Regions from separate parts of the Homo sapiens genome. Here regions 1 and 3 are each linked to region 2. Evidence: promoter capture Hi-C in human tissues and cell types (Jung and others, 2019). All regions are on one chromosome and are shown on one strand. Each heading gives the region's core, a stretch centred on a gene start or on the middle of the fragment in contact. The rest is flanking DNA. Distances are from core to core; before and after follow the strand shown. Region 1 has its middle 120 kb from the start of WDR75. Region 2 holds the start of COL5A2 (collagen type V alpha 2 chain). Region 3 overlaps COL5A2 (collagen type V alpha 2 chain).

Region 1 (2,700 bases), core at 18-2,517, 140 kb before region 2:
GCTCCTGTATTGGGTGCATATATATTTAGGATAGTTAGCTCTTCTTGTTGAATTGATCCCTTTACCTTTATGTAATGGCCTTCTTTGTCTCTTTTGATCTTTGTTGGCTTAAAATTTGTTTTATCAGAGACTAGGATTGCAACCCCTGCCATTTTTTGTTTTCCATTTGCTTGTAGATCTTCCTCCATCCCTTTATTTTGAGCCTATGTGTGTCTCTGCACGTGAGATGGGTTTCCTGAATACAGCACACTGATGGGTCTTGACTCTTTATCCAATTTTCCAGTCTGTGTCTTTTAATTGGAACATTTAGCCCATTTACATTTACAGTTAATATTGTTATGTGTGAATTTGATCCTGTCATCATTATGTTAGCTGGTTATTTTACTCGTTAGTTGATGCAGTTTCCTCCTAGCATCGATGGTCTTTACAATTTGGCATGTTTTTGCAGTGGCTGGTACTGGTTGTTCCTCTCCATGTTTAGTGCTTCCTTCAGGAGCTGTTGTAGGGCAGGCCTGGTGGTGATAAAATCTCTCAGCATTTGCTTGTCTATAAAGGATTTTATTTCTCCTTCACTTATGAAGCTTAGTTTGGCTGGATATGAAATTCTGGGTTGAAAATTCTTTTCTTTAAGAATGTTGAATATTGGCCCCCACTCTCTTCTGGCTTGTAGAGTTTCTGCCCAGAGATCCACTGTTAGTCTGATAGGCTTCCCTGTGTGGGTAACCCGACCTTTCTCTCTGGCTGCCCTTAACATTTTTTCCTTCATTTCAACTTTGGTGAATCTGACAATTATGTGTCTTGGAGTTGCTCTTCTCGAGGAGTATCTTTGTGGCGTTCTCTGTATTTCTTGAATTTGAATGTTGGCCTTCCTTGCTAGGTTGGGGAAGTTCTCCTGGATAATAACCTGAAGAATGTTTTCCAACTTGGTTCCATTCTCCCCATCACTTTCAGGTACACCAATCAGACGTAGATTTGGTCTTTTCACATAGTCCCATATTTCTTGGAGGCTTTGTTGATTTCTTCTTATTCTTTTTTCTCTAAACTTCTTTTCTCACTTTATTTCATTCATTTGATCTTCAATCACTGATACTCTTTCTTCCAGTTGATCGAGTCGGCTACTGAAGCTTGTGCATTTGTCACGTAGTTCTCGTGCCATGGTTTTCAGCCCCATCAGGTCCTTTAAGGACTTCTCTGCATTGGTTATTCTAGTTAGCCATTCGTGTAATCTTTTTTCAAGGTTTTTAACTTCTTTGCAATGGGTTCAAACTTCCCCCTTTAGCTCGGAGACGTTTGATCGTCTGAAGCCTTCTTCTCTCAACTCATCAAAGTCATTCTCTGTCCAGCTTTGTTCTGTTGCTGGTGAGGAGCTGCATTCCTTTGGAGGAGGAGAGGCGCTCTGATTTTTAGAATTTTCAGTTTTTCTGCTCTGTTTTATCCCCATCTTTGTGTTTTTTATCTACCTTTGGTCTTTGATGATGGTGACGTACAGATGGGTTTTTGGTGTGGATGTCCTTTCTGTTTGTTAGTTTTCCTTTTAATAGTCGGAATCCTCAGCTGCAGGTCTGTTGGAATTTGCGGGAGTTCTACTCCAGACCCTGTTTGCCTGGATATCAGCAGTGGAGGCTGCAGAACAGTGAATATTGCTGAACAGCAAATGTTGCTGTCTGATCATTCCTCTGGAGGTTTTGTCTCAGAGGGGTACCCGGCCATGTGAGATGTCAGTCTGCCCCTACTGGGGGGGTGCCTCCCAGATAGGCTACCTGGGGGTCAGGGACCCACTTGAGGATGCAGTCTGTCCATTCTCAGATCTCAAACTCTGTGCTGGAAGAACCACTACTCTCTTCAAGGCTGTCAGACAGGGACATTTAAGTCTGCAGAGGTTTCTGCTGCCTTTTGTTCGGCTACGCCCTGCTCCCAGAGGTGGAGTCTACAGAGCAGGCCAGCCTCCTTGAGCTGCAGTGGGCTCCACCCAGTTCAAGCTTCCTGGTCGCTTTGTTTACCTACTCAAGCCTCAGCAATGGCGGGCGCCCCTCCCCGAGCCTGGCTGCTGCCTTGCAGTTTGATCTCAGACTGCTATGCTAGCAATGAGCAAGGCTCCGTGGGCGTGGGACCCTCCGAGCCAGGCACGGGATATAATCTCCTGGTGTGCTGTTTGCTAAGACCATTGGAAAAGCGCAGTATTAGTGTGGGAGTGACCTGATTTTCCAGGTGCAGTCTGTCACAGCTTTGCTTGGCTATGAAAGGGAATTATCTGACCCCTTGCACTTCCCGGATTAGGCGATGCCTCGCCCTGCTTCGGCTCACGCTTGGTGCGCTGCATCCAGTGTCCTGCACCTACTGTCTGACAAGCCCCAGTGAGATGAACCCAGTACCTAAGTTGGAAATGCAGAAATCACCCATCTTCTGCGCCGCTCACGCTGGGAGCTGTAGACTGGAGCTGTTCCTATTCGGCCATCTTGCAGTCTCTTTCTTTAACATGTCATGTTTTATTTTAACAATTTATTCAAAATTTCATTTAATTTCATGCCATATCCATGTTTGTTTTAATATAAAATCAGTAACAGGCAAGGTTATTTTTTTTTCTCAAATATGTCTAAAATAGACATCCCTGGCAGCTGTTATGTTGAGCCTTGCTTCTGAGTGTCTCTTGGCACAGTACCACATATCCTGGGGATATGAATACTTTGAGAAGTGCAGATG
Region 2 (2,700 bases), core at 189-2,688:
TTGGATTTCTTCTATTAAGAACAGTAATAATGTCTTGCTTGCCTAATCTCATTTGATAATTTCTCCTTTCTCCGGGCTTAATGCATCCCTCACATATTTATATGCTCTGGCTTATATATCTTTATTTCTTGTAAATTTAGTTTCTCAACACCTACATATGTTCCTTGAAGGTGATGGGTATGTCTTTTATTTCTTTTATGTCATCCTTTCTGCCCAGTGCTTAGCACAGTGCAAGGCACCTGTTGCCCAATAATTATAAACAATTGACTCACTTGTATTGTATAGAACATCCATCCTGATTCTAGGGAGACTCAAGGTGGCAAATACATTAGATTGTATAGAACTCTCTGAGGTCATTAAGATCTTGGCAAGTGTGAGGGTGGCACAAAAGTTCATCGATAATTTTCCTTAAAATGCATGTTCAACTGGGGCTATCATATTCCCTGCAAAGCTGGCTTAAAGCTAATAATACCACCATCTGCTTTTATGTAGCTCTTTGCAATTTGGAGCTTCATTAATAATACATTACTCATTTTAGTGTCACTAAACCCTGTACACTGGTCAGGGTAAAGCCCTTTTCTCAAATGAGAAAATTGGAGTGCACAGAGATAAAGGACTATATGCACATTTACAAAATTATTGAGTGGCAGAACCACTCACAAAAGGCAGAAGCAAGCCTTTTTTCATCCAAAGGTAGAGTACTTCCCATTCCTCTGCACTGCTTAGTAGACTATTTTTCAACATGGTAAAACTCTCTGGGACAAGAGGAACCTGAAGATGTGGCCCCTTAACAAGAGATGTGGAGAAATTAGGAAAGGACATGCTTTCTTAATTCAAATTACAATGTATCACAAATTCATTTATCCAAAATGGTTTTCTAACCTGGACTTTACCTGGGCAACATTCTAATAATCTCCTTCCAGAGTATGGGAAAAGAAACCGAATCTGAGAAGGGGATAAGAATACTCCCTATTCAGTCAAAAGAAAGGGTTAAAATGTGATTGTTTAAAGATTTAAGGTGGAGAAGAGAGTCTTGAATTATCTAAATGTAAAAAAACTAGGGTAAAAGGCTGGATTTCCTTCGGAATGTCTTTTTCAGCTTATAGGGGAAAAGTTAAAGGGTGTGTGTCTGGGGGGAAGGGTTAGGGAGGGGAAAATAGAACCCTTTTCTTCTAACAGCCTTTCTTAAAAAATAAAAGAAAAGAGAAACAAATGTTTGTTTCTGTTATTAAGCCCCATCTATGCTTAAAAGTTAAATGAAATAGGGAAAGTTCAGGCACAGAGACGCGTGTTCTGATTTGGTTGTTTACCATCAATCAGACCGTTGCTTGGCAGACACTGGATGGTTATGAGCCTGAACAAGCTGAAAAGGGGCAGGAAAAGAAGTGGAGGCAGCATTCTTCCTATTTAAAGCTGCATCGCTTGAAAAAAGTTTTCGCAGACTGTGCTGGAGCTGGTGCTGAAAAAGGGGGTTTGCAGAGGCTGCCCTGGGGCTGGTGCTGAAAGAAGAGCCCACAGCTGACTTCATGGTGCTACAATAACCTCAGAATCTACTTTTCACTCTCAGGAGAACCCACATGTCTAATATTTAGACATGATGGCAAACTGGGCGGAAGCAAGACCTCTCCTCATTCTTATTGTTTTATTAGGGCAATTTGTCTCAATAAAAGCCCAGGAAGAAGACGAGGATGGTGAGTTTGCCATTTGCTTTGCTTGTAGTGTTTATTGCACGGTTTGGGAAATAGGTGGAATGTTAAGCCTCAGGAAGAGCGTGAAGAGGAGGTTCTGGTTTGAAGTTTGAGAAGGGGGCTGACGGATTTGCACCTGGAAAACGACTTGAAAGACAATTGGGATGTTTGTAAATCCGGAGCTTCTAGATCCACCGTTGGAGAGAGTACACTACTAAATTTTTCTGGGAAAGCCTACAATAAGTCCTTTTGGCTGAGTGTGAGAGTGGGACGTTTAAAATAAGAAAAGAGTGAATGCTTAAAACGGAGCACTAAAGGCATTTTAGTTAGAGGAGCTCTGTTCTGTGGGCTGGAGTTTTCAGAGCAAGGAAAAGTCGCGGCAGAAGCTGGGTAGGGTGGAGTCTTTTTGTACTGAACTTCAGCTGCTTCATAAAATTCTTTGTTTAGTAAAACCTCTGCAGCAACTCTGATAGCTTTGATTTTTCTTTGTCTTTGGCTCCTCATTCTTTCCTCTTTAACAATTTAAACTTCTTTTTACCATTTTCATTTGTGAAAATGTGATCACTTTTGCTTACTGGGAGGCAGTCTCGTTTGTTTCTCCATGACAGAGGCTGATAGAAGCCAGATTTCTTAAACAGTGGTATTTTCCCACCCTACTGGCTTGATTAACAGGACAGTGGTGGTTCCCGGTTGGATGGCGGAAGGCAGGAAATCAGCATGTCTTGTATATATCTTATTTGGCATGGAATATTTGCATGGACATTACCCCTTAGACCCAAGCTTTTTTTTTTTTTTTTTTTTAAAGATAAATCTTGCCTGGTGACCACATTTTTTTCCTATGCAATTTTCATATGTTACAGTTGGGTTATATGGTATGGTTAAGCAAAAATGCATAGCTGTTGTAGTATATAAGAAAATATTTAAATTGATTCCTCTATTAAATCTTTAATCTTGAGGGTTGCAATTTCAAATACAGACATGTACTCCTTTAAAATAAGCCACTGTAGATTTT
Region 3 (2,700 bases), core at 21-2,520, 140 kb after region 2:
ATATTTATTCCATAGTTTCCATGTGGATATAAAATTCTTAGTTTAGGGTCTCTTGTACTATGGGATAGATGGTAAATTAATATTAGATAACTACTATAATAATGTCTAAATAATTGAATCATTTTGTAAAATTTTTAATATTATTTAAACTTAAGGCATTTTTGTAATGTTATGAAGTCAATTGATATTTTTCTGAGTCCCAGTCTACCCTGTTTCTATCATGGTCTGGTGTTCAGACAACTGTCTGGCCTTTCCACTGCCTGTTGCAATGTGAATATTTCATTCTGCATCTCTTTATGGCAGCCTAATTGAAATTTTCTTCTCACTTCTGCTTCTGACCTTTTCCTAGAAATCACGTTCAGAATAAACATTATGAGAACATTATGGGTGTATACAAGATAAGCTAGTATCTGTCATTATTTAATGAGCACAAAATTTTAAATTTTAAATATAAATAGTTGAAATATAATTTAGCTAATATAATATGTAAAATAAAACCCCCAAATGGGAGTGCTGAAACCAAAGCTAAAGTAGAAGGTGAGTAGGAAAGAGTCTCTAGAAAAATTTTTTTGATTATTTTTGTTAGCACATGGAAAACTTTTAATATGTATTTCCTACAATTGTGTAATAGTTGGGGTCAAAAGATTTTATACTACTAGTTAATTCTAATTTTTATTATAATTAGCAATAAAAATGAGTTATTTTTGATACATGAGTGAAGCAGATTTAAAAATACTTATGCTTGTTCTCGTGAATTATTGTTATTATTGGTTTCATTACCCTTTGGGTTAATAAGGACAGAGGTTCTTTTGAGTATTCATAGACATTTTAAGATATGTTTAGATGTACAGCTAGAATAGCTTACTTTATGACAAGAATTAAAGTAATACTCTTCAAAATTGATTTATCTGAAATCAATTTATATATTTATCTATACATGTGTAAGGCATTATGAAACCCTTCAGTCTTGTGTATGACAAAGACTCTTTGTTTTTCTAGTTCGCTTATGGAGACCACCAATCACCTAATACAGCCATTACTCAGATGACTTTTTTGCGCCTTTTATCAAAAGAAGCCTCCCAGAACATCACTTACATCTGTAAAAACAGTGTAGGATACATGGACGATCAAGCTAAGAACCTCAAAAAAGCTGTGGTTCTCAAAGGGGCAAATGACTTAGATATCAAAGCAGAGGGAAATATTAGATTCCGGTATATCGTTCTTCAAGACACTTGCTCTGTAAGTACTTTTTGATCTACATTGATCTGGTTGAGGAAAAAAAATTATTTTTGTTAAAAATACTATTACAGCACTAGAACTGGGGGCAATTTTACCTTGTATATGAGCATAATAGCAGTTTGTTTATAGTCATTCCTTAGGGTAAATGTGTGTGTGTTAGCACATGAAGCATGATAGAGGTTTGAATCCATATAGTAAAGAAAGAACTGGATCCCTAAGATCTGATCCAGTTCTTCTGCAGACTTTCTTTGGTTCTTTTCCAAGTTATTTAACTTACTGAATCTCAGTCCCATGCTTAAAATTCCTTATTTCTAAAATGCGTAATTAATCCAAGATACTTTATTTTTTCCACCAATTTGTAAGTAAGTCTCCCCGCTTGCATATTGAGATATAAAACGAAAATAATACTAAATGGTGAATTATAGTTTCATTTGTGAAAAACAAAAAAGCTTTCATAATTTATGTTGCTAGTGACCATTTGGGAAGCTGCAGAAGAACAAAGGAAATTTACTTAAAGCATGAAAGAAATTCTGTTACATAAGTACACTAATATTTCACTTTATGTTTTCATTCCTTTTTTTTAAGTAGTACTCTAAAAATCATTGCCTTTACATTATAAAAGTGTCTGGGAAGGTTGCTGTCTAACATACTTGGAAAAAATTGTATGTACATTTAACCCATTGCATCATTTAATTTCAGAAGCGGAATGGAAATGTGGGCAAGACTGTCTTTGAATATAGAACACAGAATGTGGCACGCTTGCCCATCATAGATCTTGCTCCTGTGGATGTTGGCGGCACAGACCAGGAATTCGGCGTTGAAATTGGGCCAGTTTGTTTTGTGTAAAGTAAGCCAAGACACATCGACAATGAGCACCACCATCAATGACCACCGCCATTCACAAGAACTTTGACTGTTTGAAGTTGATCCTGAGACTCTTGAAGTAATGGCTGATCCTGCATCAGCATTGTATATATGGTCTTAAGTGCCTGGCCTCCTTATCCTTCAGAATATTTATTTTACTTACAATCCTCAAGTTTTAATTGATTTTAAATATTTTTCAATACAACAGTTTAGGTTTAAGATGACCAATGACAATGACCACCTTTGCAGAAAGTAAACTGATTGAATAAATAAATCTCCGTTTTCTTCAATTTATTTCAGTGTAATGAAAAAGTTGCTTAGTATTTATGAGGAAATTCTTCTTCCTGGCAGGTAGCTTAAAGAGTGGGGTATATAGAGCCACAACACATGTTTATTTTGCTTGGCTGCAGTTGAAAAATAGAAATTAGTGCCCTTTTGTGACCTCTCATTCCAAGATTGTCAATTAAAAATGAGTTTAAAATGTTTAACTTGTGATCGAGACCTACATGCATGTCTTGATATTGTGTAACTATAATAGAGACTCTTTAAGGAGAATCTTAAAAAAAAAAAAACGTTTCTCACTGTCTTAAATAGAAT

What was found. Contacts are between HindIII fragments. The study calls those that stand out against the background at their distance.
Region 1: a fragment that was not itself captured here is called in contact with the fragment with the promoter of COL5A2 in region 2 in 5 of the 25 tissues and cell types used here (H1 embryonic stem cells, aorta, pancreas and 2 more).
Region 3: a fragment that was not itself captured here is called in contact with the fragment with the promoter of COL5A2 in region 2 in 1 of the 25 tissues and cell types used here (IMR-90 fibroblasts).

What each region holds. Positions count from the first base shown.
Region 1 is chr2:189,318,950-189,321,649 of GRCh38, reverse strand. It overlaps a transcript of COL5A2 not described here. Among named protein-coding and RNA genes, the nearest start is that of WDR75, 120 kb to the left of the region's middle. The HindIII fragment of the contact is 3,265 bases long and covers 1-2,700 here.
Region 2 is chr2:189,178,499-189,181,198 of GRCh38, reverse strand. It overlaps COL5A2 (collagen type V alpha 2 chain), which reads left to right and starts at 1,438. Exons shown (of 54, transcript NM_000393.5): 1 at 1,438-1,691. The coding sequence starts at 1,595. The HindIII fragment of the contact is 11,142 bases long and covers 1-2,700 here.
Region 3 is chr2:189,033,455-189,036,154 of GRCh38, reverse strand. COL5A2 (collagen type V alpha 2 chain) reads left to right here. Exons shown (of 54, transcript NM_000393.5): 53 at 1,000-1,239; 54 at 1,939-2,700. The coding sequence ends at 2,085. Among named protein-coding and RNA genes, the nearest start is that of MIR3606, 39 kb to the right of the region's middle. The HindIII fragment of the contact is 3,993 bases long and covers 1-2,700 here.